2 separate regions of the Homo sapiens genome follow, and region 1 is linked to region 2. Evidence: promoter capture Hi-C in 16 types of primary human blood cells and fetal thymus (Javierre and others, 2016). All regions are on one chromosome and are shown on one strand. The core of a region is centred on a gene start or on the middle of the fragment in contact, and the rest is flanking DNA. Distances in the headings are between cores, read along the strand shown. Region 1 overlaps CNBP (CCHC-type zinc finger nucleic acid binding protein). Region 2 holds the start of GP9 (glycoprotein IX platelet).

What was found. Contacts are between HindIII fragments. The CHiCAGO score rates a contact against its expected background, and 5 or more counts as called.
Region 1: a fragment that was not itself captured here is called in contact with the fragment with the promoter of GP9 in region 2 in 3 of 17 cell types (non-activated CD4 T cells, naive CD8 T cells and naive CD4 T cells); the score reaches 6.0 in non-activated CD4 T cells.

The regions. Positions count from the first base shown.
Region 1 is chr3:129,168,405-129,173,445 of GRCh38, reverse strand. CNBP (CCHC-type zinc finger nucleic acid binding protein) reads left to right here. Exons shown (of 5, transcript NM_003418.5): 2 at 1,675-1,812; 3 at 1,908-2,000; 4 at 2,169-2,367; 5 at 2,876-5,041. The coding sequence starts at 1,689. The coding sequence ends at 2,993. Among named protein-coding and RNA genes, the nearest start is that of ISY1-RAB43, 9.9 kb to the right of the region's middle. The HindIII fragment of the contact is 4,898 bases long and covers 640-5,041 here.
Region 2 is chr3:129,056,849-129,062,028 of GRCh38, reverse strand. GP9 (glycoprotein IX platelet) reads right to left here and starts at 1,250. Exons shown (of 3, transcript NM_000174.5): 1 at 1,179-1,250; 2 at 410-535; 3 at 1-301. The coding sequence starts at 289. The HindIII fragment of the contact is 4,040 bases long and covers 1-1,935 here.

The DNA of each region.
Region 1 (5,041 bases), core at 1,839-4,338, 110 kb before region 2:
GTGCTATTATTAGCGCTTTGGTGTAACTCATGGTCGTTTTCCTACTATTTTTATTATACAGTCATCTCTTGGTATCTGTGAAGTGGTTCCACAAACTCCCTCAAATACCAAAATCCTCCTATGCTCAAGTTCCCAATATAAAATAGTGTAGTACTTGCATTACAACCTTTGCACATCTTCCCATATACTTTAAAATCATCTTTAGATTACTTATAATACCTAACACAATGTAAATGCTGAATAAGTAGTTGTTAACATTGTATTGTTTAGGGAATAATGGCAAGAAAAGTCTGCATGTTCAATACAGATGCAACTTTTCCACTGAATATTTTTATTCCAAGGTTGGTTGAAGCCATGGATGCAGAACCCATGGATATAGAGGGCCTACTGTACTTGTACCATCTAGAGATAAGATTTGTATCTTGCATTTGTTTTAACATATCTGTTCTAAGGAATATCTCAGTCACCAGGCAAGTGCTGCAGTATAACTAGGTACTACGTCAGGTGCTAAGGTTAAGAGAGTATTTTCCTTCACTGACTCCTCACTCCGAGAATCCATTTTACAGCTTCATTGGTTTGGGTTATTCCAATTTTTTGATGTGAGTAAATAAATGACTTCTATTTGCCCAAAATAAAGCTTATATAGGCCTTATAACCATGCAAATGTGTCCATTAAGTTGGACTTGGAATGAGTGAATGAGTATTACTGCCAGTGTGTGTGTGTGTGTGTGTGTGTGTGTGTGTGTGTGTCTGTCTGTCTGTCTGTCTGTCTGTCTGTCTGTCTGTCTGCCTGCCTGCCTGCCTGCCTGCCTGCCTGCCTGGCTGCCTGTCTGCCTGTCTGCCTGCCTGCCTGCCTGCCTGCCTGCCTGTCTGTCTCACTTTGTCCCCTAGGCTGGAGTGCAGTGGTATGATCTCGGCTCACTGCAACCTCCACCCCCCGGGTTCAAGCGATTCTTCTGCCTCAGCCTCCTGAGTAGCTGGGATTACAGGCGCATGCCGCCATGCCCGGCTGTTTTTTGTATTTTTAGTAGAGACGGGGTTTCGCCATGTTGGCCAGACTGGTCTCAAACTCCTGACCTCAGATGGTCCACCCGCTTCAGCCTCCCAAAGTGCTAGGATTACAGGCATGAGCCACCGTGCCCAGCCACTACCAATTATTTCTCTTAATGGATTTTCATTGACCCTAACCCTGTAAATTCCATCACTTTTATCAAGGTGTATATTATAATAAGTCTATAATACCCAATCATGTAGTTGTGTGATTATTTTATTTTTTTGAGACAGAGTCTCAATGTTGCCCAGGCTGGAGTACAGTGGCACCATCTCAGCTCACTGTAAGCTCCGCCTCCTGGGTTCACACCATTCTCCTGCCTCAGCCTCCCAAGTAGCTGGGATTACAGGCGCCTGCCACTTCACCGGGCTAATTTTTTGTATTTTTCGTAGAGACGGGGTTTCACCATGTTAGCCAAGATGGTCTCGATCTCATGATCCACCCACCTCGGCCTCCCAAAGTGATGGGATTACTGGCGTGAGCCACCATGCCCAGCTATTTTTTTAACCAATATATTAGCTAGCTTTTTTCCCCAGAATAATTTTCCAAAAATACATTTAATAGAGAATAAAAGTTAAAAGAACTTTCAGTGGTTTAATGCTGTTACTTTTAATATTTCAAAGATCTGACTGCAGCCATGAGCAGCAATGAGTGCTTCAAGTGTGGACGATCTGGCCACTGGGCCCGGGAATGTCCTACTGGTGGAGGCCGTGGTCGTGGAATGAGAAGCCGTGGCAGAGGTGGTTTTACCTCGGATAGAGGTATTTTGTCGAATAGAAAAATTTGAAGTACTTCAGTATTTGTTAGTATCAAGACTGGTCTGACTAGCCGAATTCTTTGTTTTTGCTCAAAACAGGTTTCCAGTTTGTTTCCTCGTCTCTTCCAGACATTTGTTATCGCTGTGGTGAGTCTGGTCATCTTGCCAAGGATTGTGATCTTCAGGAGGATGGTAAGTATTTAACACTTCCTTTTCATACCCCTCTAGAGCTTGGAGAGGTGAGCACATGCAACTGTGTATAGCATTTCCACCTTTGAGGTTTTGTATTGTATAATTTAAAACGTAACACTTTGTAAAGGTTTTATAGTCTTGGCCTGTTTCTTTTCCTTATTGTTGAAGCCTGCTATAACTGCGGTAGAGGTGGCCACATTGCCAAGGACTGCAAGGAGCCCAAGAGAGAGCGAGAGCAATGCTGCTACAACTGTGGCAAACCAGGCCATCTGGCTCGTGACTGCGACCATGCAGATGAGCAGAAATGCTATTCTTGTGGAGAATTCGGACACATTCAAAAAGACTGCACCAAAGTGAAGTGCTATAGGTAAGGTGTCAGAATGTTGTTAGAAGAAAACTCATTGCAGAGATTCTTCCAGAGATGAATTAGCTATAAATGGAAGGGCCTTAGTAAATTCAGTGAAACTTAGCTGTGACCAGATAAGACCAATTTTCAGCATATGTAACTGGCAGTCTATCTGTATATAATTCTGTATTCTGCCCTGATATCCTGTGGCTTATGGTACCTGGGCAGTTTTCACAACTGGACTTTTTTAATATATAAAAGTAAGAGTGTTATAATTTGAAACTTCCAGAGACTTCATAGAAAGCTCTGTAATATACATAAATCTTTTATCATGTAACCAGAAATCTTTGCCTGTTTGTGACATGTAAGTGTATAATTTGATAAATGTTGTTGTGTACATATCTGTGAAACCTTAGGGGTTAATTGCATGAAAACAAAGATCAGGCGTTTTGTTCTGCATGGTGACTGTTGCTTTGGTAGACAGTTTTTTTCTGAGGCCCATTGTGAAAACTTTTAATTTCTTTTTTAGGTGTGGTGAAACTGGTCATGTAGCCATCAACTGCAGCAAGACAAGTGAAGTCAACTGTTACCGCTGTGGCGAGTCAGGGCACCTTGCACGGGAATGCACAATTGAGGCTACAGCCTAATTATTTTCCTTTGTCGCCCCTCCTTTTTCTGATTGATGGTTGTATTATTTTCTCTGAATCCTCTTCACTGGCCAAAGGTTGGCAGATAGAGGCAACTCCCAGGCCAGTGAGCTTTACTTGCCGTGTAAAAGGAGGAAAGGGGTGGAAAAAAACCGACTTTCTGCATTTAACTACAAAAAAAGTTTATGTTTAGTTTGGTAGAGGTGTTATGTATAATGCTTTGTTAAAGAACCCCCTTTCCGTGCCACTGGTGAATAGGGATTGATGAATGGGAAGAGTTGAGTCAGACCAGTAAGCCCGTCCTGGGTTCCTTGAACATGTTCCCATGTAGGAGGTAAAACCAATTCTGGAAGTGTCTATGAACTTCCATAAATAACTTTAATTTTAGTATAATGATGGTCTTGGATTGTCTGACCTCAGTAGCTATTAAATAACATCAAGTAACATCTGTATCAGGCCCTACATAGAACATACAGTTGAGTGGGAGTAAACAAAAAGATAAACATGCGTGTTAATGGCTGTTCGAGAGAAATCGGAATAAAAGCCTAAACAGGAACAACTTCATCACAGTGTTGATGTTGGACACATAGATGGTGATGGCAAAGGTTTAGAACACATTATTTTCAAAGACTAAATCTAAAACCCAGAGTAAACATCAATGCTCAGAGTTAGCATAATTTGGAGCTATTCAGGAATTGCAGAGAAATGCATTTTCACAGAAATCAAGATGTTATTTTTGTATACTATATCACTTAGACAACTGTGTTTCATTTGCTGTAATCAGTTTTTAAAAGTCAGATGGAAAGAGCAACTGAAGTCCTAGAAAATAGAAATGTAATTTTAAACTATTCCAATAAAGCTGGAGGAGGAAGGGGAGTTTGACTAAAGTTCTTTTTGTTTGTTTCAAATTTTCATTAATGTATATAGTGCAAAATACCATATTAAAGAGGGGAATGTGGAGGACTGAAAGCTGACAGTTTGGACTTTTCTTTTTGTACTTAAGTCATGTCTTCAATAATGAAAATTGCTGTTAAAAGGATGTATGGGATTTAGATACTTTTGCAAAGCTATAGAAAATTCACTTTGTAATCTGTTATAATAATGCCCTTGAGTTCTGTGTTCAGTCTGAACAGGTTTTTTGGTGGTGGTGGTTTTGTTTTGTTTTGGAGACGGAGTCTCACTCTTGTCGCCCAGGCTGGAGTGCAGGCTTGGCTCACTGCAACCTCCACCTCCCGGGTTCAAGCAATTCTCCTGCCTCAGCCTCCTGAGTAGCTGGGATTACAGGCACCCGCCACCACCCCCCGCTAATTTTTTGTATTTTTATTTTTATTTTATTTTTTTATTTTTTTTTGAGACAGAGTGTCGCTCTGTTGCCCAGGCTGGAGTGTAGTGGTGCGATCTCGGCTCACTGCAAGCTCCGCCTCCTGGGTTCGTGCCATTCTCCTGCCTCAGCCTCCTGAGTAGCTGGGGCTACAGGTACCCGCCACCGCGCCCAGCTAATTTTTTTTTTTTGTATTTTTAGTAAAGACGGGGTTTCACGGTGTTAGCCAGGATGGTCTCAATCTCCTGACCTCGTGATCCGCCCGCCTTGGCCTCCCAAAGTGCTGGGATCACAGGCGTGAGCCACCGCGCCCGGCCTATTTTTTGTATTTTTAGTAGAGACTGGGTTTCATCATGTTGGTCGGGCTGGTCTCCAACTCCTGACCTCAGGTGATCCACCTGCCCCGCCCCCCAAAGTGCTAGTGTTACAGGTGCGAGCCACCGTGTCTGGCCGATTCTGAACAGTTTTAATACCATTGCTATTTTTGTGTTTTTCCTGGGCCTTTTTTTTTTTTTTTTTTTTTTTTGAGACAGTCTCGCTCTGTTGCCCAGGCTAGAGTGCAATGGTGCAATCTCAGCTCACTGCAACCTCCACCCCCCACCCCCACACCCCGTTCAAGTAATTCTCCTGCCTCAGCCTCCCAAATAGCTGGGATTACAGGTGTCCGCCACCACACCCAGCTAATTTTTGTTATTTTTAGTAGAGATGGGGTTTCACTGTGTTGGTC
Region 2 (5,180 bases), core at 1-2,500:
GCAGATAGGTGAGGCTGCAGTCACAGTGCCAGGGGTTCTGCGTCACATCGAGGGTCTGCAGCTGGGGCAGGTGGTCAAAGGCTCCCGGGGGCACGGACTGAAGGCTGTTGTTGGCCAGCAGAAGGTGGCGGGTGCGGGCCGGCAGGGCAGGCAGGGCCGTGAGTCCGTGGCCCCTGCAGTCCACCCACAGCCCCATGGTTTCCAGGGCGCGGCAGGTACATGGGCTGGGGCAGTCCTTGGTGGCCTCTGCTGTGGCCCAGAGCAGGAACAGGGCTCCCCAGGCAGGCATGGGACAGGCTGGCTGCAGAGAGAGGGGCTGTGAGGGAGGGCCTGGCAGCCTGGACCGATCCTCAGGGACGGCAAGCACTGGGGATGTAGCGGAGCCTGACATGGGACGGGGTGCACTCACCTCCCTTCTCGGGTCTCAGCCTTCTCCTCTGGGAAACCAGCTGGTGACTAGGGAAGGTGGAGTGTGCCCAGCCCAGGCCTGGCTAACTGTCTCTGGACACCGTAGAAGGCCGGGCGGTGAGGGCGGCTGTGGATTGGGTAAGTTTGTTTTTGGGAAGGGGAAGGGACTTCCTGGCCCTTAGCAGAGACCCCATCCCCTGCTTGGGGATGAGAGGAGCAGATGGCTGCTAAATGAGTCCCAGCCCAGGACCACAGTCCCCAGAGACTAGGAAAGAGCCTTGGAGGGCCCTGCAGGCTGCGCCCAGCACCCCCCACCAGCTAAGTGAGCTGTTACCTGATTCCCAGATGCAGAAGACAGCAGGACAGGGACACTGGCTGGAGCAGGGAGGGGAACTCAGTGGGACCCCATCTGGAAAACCACTCATCTGGGCTAACACTGACTTGGGGAAACTGAGGCCCAGAGAGGGAAAGCAATGTGCCCAGGGCCACCGGTGTGGTGTCAGAGGCCAGACTCACACTCGGGTCTCGGCAACCGTGGCCCTCTGTTTGGTTCTTCCCCACAGGCGTTTCCCCTCCACCAGCAGAGCTCCCCCTACCCACAGCAGGTTTCCAGTGAATAAGTGTCAAATCAACTCACTCATCTTGACTCAGCCAAGGAGATGGTGTCTCAGAGGGAATGTCCCACCCAACCCTGTCTTGTTAAAGGGACAGGAACTGACCTCCTCTCTCCCTGTGGGAGGCCATGCTGGGTAATACGGAGGGCCACTTACCTGTGAAGCCTTTGGTCAGGTGCTCCTGTCTGGCCTGAAAGGTCCTGGCTGAGGCCTGGGTGGCAACTCTATGGGATACAGCTGAGGTGGCCGCTGCGGGAGCGGGCGGAAGGAAGTGATGAAAATAGCCTGGCTTATCCCCCCAGTGCAGCCTTGGGGCCTATTTCCAGAGGCAGGAGGCCCTCAGGGGCCCGCGCCTTGGGCACAGAACCACATCTCAACCCCGGTTTATAGAAGGGGGTCCCACTGTGCCGCCAGTGCCTTGATGGGCTTTGGAATCAGGTCTGTGGAGGACTGAGGGTGGCCCCTCACCTGCTCCCAGAAGGTGGGAACTAGGAGACCCCTGAGAAACGTGGCTCTGCTGGTTGTTCCTCCGAATCTCAGTTTTCCTCATCTGTAAAGTGGGAGCAGTGACCGGTCCTGCCTGCCTCACAGAGGTGTGGGCTGGGCAGCTCCCACTGGCTGAGAACACCATGGTGGGGAGAGTGACTTCATTTTTAACTCTCCTCCCTCCTCCTGTATACTCAAGGACGGAGTCTCTTCTTGGTGCCATGGTGTTTTTAGCTCCTGCCTAGTGCTTCTCCATGCCTCTTTCTAACAAACAGCTGTAGGCCTGGGAAGCAGAGCCTCTACCAAGTGTGAATCTCTAGCTAGAATTTTGGCCTATGGTTTTAACATTTGCAGTACATTTTCTTCTAGAGCACATTCTACTTAGGGGAGGGACACCATTTTCCATTTATGTTAGTGACATAAAGCTTCCTTTAAAAGATAAATATATTTTGGGATGGAGAATTGCTTGAACCCAGGAGGCAGAGGTGGCAGTGAGCCGAGACCGTGCCATTGCACTCCAGCCTGGGTGACAGAGCGAGACTCCGTCTTAAAAAATAAATAAAACAGGGTAAAAACACAGAAGTTACAGAAGCCTGGCAGGAAAAGCCAAAGACAGAAGGCTGACGGAGGCTTTAAACGCACTTCGTTGACATTCAGGACCCTCGGGAATATTCCTCGGCCCTACGGGGGTGGGGGTGTGCTTGTTCTTATTTTGGTCTCACATCCTTCTCAGGCCAGCCTTCCTCCTCCTGCATGGCCAAGCAGGGTGAGTCCTTCCTTGGGAGGCCGCCTGTTCTCTCCCCGCCTCCTGGTTCTGGATTTGGGTAGGGCAGGATTTGGGTGTTCACCCTCCTAGGAGGCCCTGAGAGGCTGCCAGGCCCCAGCTCTGCTTCCTCCACCCACTGATGCTGGGCTCAGAGAAGGGTGGGGAAGGTGCTGTTCCCCCACTGATGTCACACCTGCTCGGGGGCCTGGTTGCTGCTGGGGGTCCCCTGGTATGTGCTCAGTGGGGACTCTGACCGGAGCCTGGACCATGGAGAGGAGCCTCAGCCTGTCTGGCCCTTCCCTCCCTCCCCATGGAGCCTTGGCATGTTCCACCTCCTCTGCCCTGCACACATTCACCAGTGAGCCCCACGCAGGTGGGTAAGGGGTTCTGGAGTGAGTGGGGGTGCTGGAGCTGCCAGGCCAGGTGTTGTGACCAGATCTGGTGGGGCCTGTGCCCTCCTTCCTCTTGAGCCTCTGAGATTTCCTTATTTTCAGCATGTACAACTTAAAACAAAAAACTAGATCAACATAGATGGGTTTTGTGAATTTAAAAAACTACATAAATAACAAATAAATGATTTTTGTTGTGGGAAATTAGAATGTTCAGATGAACTGGAAGAAGAAAATAAAAATTTCCCTCCATCCCAACATCAGGCAAGGCTTTTTCCCCATGTGTATTTACCCATATGGGTAAATACATACCCATCTGCCCAAGAGGCACAGGATAATGCAGGAAGTGGATCTGTAAACAGCCTGGGTGAGCCTGCAAGTGGATTCTCCCAGAGCCTCCAGAGAGGAATGCAGCCCTGCCAGCAGCTTGATTTCCACCTACAAGTGATGCAGGGCAGGTGAGCCCCCAAATCAGGGCTTTGCCCCTGAGGGCTCTTGGCTTTGGCCAGGAAAGAAGTCAAAGAGCCAGTGGTGAAGAAAGCCGCTTTATTGAAGCAGCAGTGCATAGCAGAGGTGCTGCTCTCTGGGAGCAGGGCTACCCCACAGGCAGTGTGCCCAGAGCAGTAGTGTGTGGGCTTTTGGCAACTGCACTTACAGCCACTATTCATTACATGCAAATTCAGGGGCAGGTTATTTCAAACTTTCTAGAAAAGGGGTGGTGAGTTTCCAGAACCCTGTAACTTTCAGGTTGTTGCCATGGCGTGCTGCCATGGCATTTGTAAACTACCATGGTGCCAGGGGGAGTGTCTATGTTAGTGAGCAGTGAGGGCAACTAGCGGTTGCTTTCGTTCCCATCTGCTGGTTTCTGGTGTCTGCCAGCTTCTTCACTACACCTTGTTTCAACCAGATCCTGCTGCCATCAGCAGGCTGGGGACCGGGGGTCCTGACAGGTGCTCAGAAAACAGGTCCTGCTGATCTACCTCAGGAGGGCTGGAATAAGAGAACCCACAGGAGCTGTGTGATGAAGAATGAGAAAATAAATGTGTGCTGCATTAAGCCTCTTGTGACAGCAGCAATAGGAACCAAGGCGAAGGCCAAGCCCCACTCTTGTGCTGTGAGTTGTCCCCTCTCCATCCTTCCAGGACATTGCCCCATCAGGTGCCCCTTCCTCTGCATGATCAATTTCTCCTTCACTGGGTCATTCCATCAGGTTAGGAGCAGCCAGACCAGGCGCGGTGGCTCACGCCTGCAATCCCAGCACTTTGGGAGGCTGAGGCAGGCAGATCACTTTAGGTCTGCCTAAAGTGGGTTTCGAGACCAGCCTGACCAACATGGAGAAACACCATCTCTACTAAAAATACAAAATTAGCTGGGCGTGGTGGTGTATGCCTGTAATCCCAGCTACTTGGGAGGCTGAGGCAAGAGAATCACTTGAACCCAGGAAGCGGAGGCTGTGGTGAGCTGAGATCGCGCCATTGCACTCCAGGCTGAGCAACAAGAGCAAAACTCCGTCTCAAAAAAAAAAAAAAAAAAAAGAAGCAACCTATAATCCTGCCCTTTTGAAAAATCCTTCCTTAATTCCACCTCTTTCTCCAATTACCATCTGATTTTTCTGCTTCTCTCTTCCATAAAACTCCTCTGAAGAGTCACTTCTACTTGCTGTCCAACCCATCAGTAATTCCTGTCATTTCAGTCACCAGGATCTATTCAGAACTTAACCACTTCTCCCTGTGCTGCTACTGCTCTGGTCTTCGTTCGCCTTCTTGGCTTCCCATCGCAAATAAAAGAAAACCCGTGCCCCTGTGGTCAGGAAGCTACAGGCCCCCCTGTAGCTTGGCCCCTGCCTATTTCTTGACCCCATCACCCACTGTCTACTTTGCTCATCAATGTCCAGCCACACCAATTTTCTTCCTGTTGCTCAAACACTCCAGCACTTTCCTGCCTCAGGGCCTTTGCACTTGCTGTTCCCTCTGCCTGGAGTGCCCTTCCCCCAGAGCCCCACATGGCTTCCTCCTGATCATCATTCTCATCTCAATTCAGATGACCCCTCCTCAAAGGCCTCCCTTGCCAAGGCACAGCTCCATCCTTCTGTACCATAATATTCCATTTCATATCTTCCTTAGCATTGATCAGGATCTGAAATGATCTTATTTTTACATTTTTATGTGTTTATTAAATGTCTCCTCCCATTGATGTGAAACTCAAGAGGGCAGAGACTCTGTCCCATTAACTCTTCCCTCCCCAGCACCTCTGCCTGGCCCATGGGCATTATCTAATACATACTTGTCAGCCTTGCTGGCTGTCTCTTCTCTAGTGCTGGCCTTATCTGTGTCTTGCCAGGACTGCTGTCTCCTTGATGCTGGCCTCTGCCTCTACTATACAGGTTTAATCTCACTACACTCCTGCTCCATGTCTTTCATGGCTCCCTGCTGTCTTCAGGACACCCTCTGCCACCCTGTCCAGCCTCACCTCTCATCTCTTCCTGATCTGAAGCTTCGTGGTAGGCTAGCCATGTCC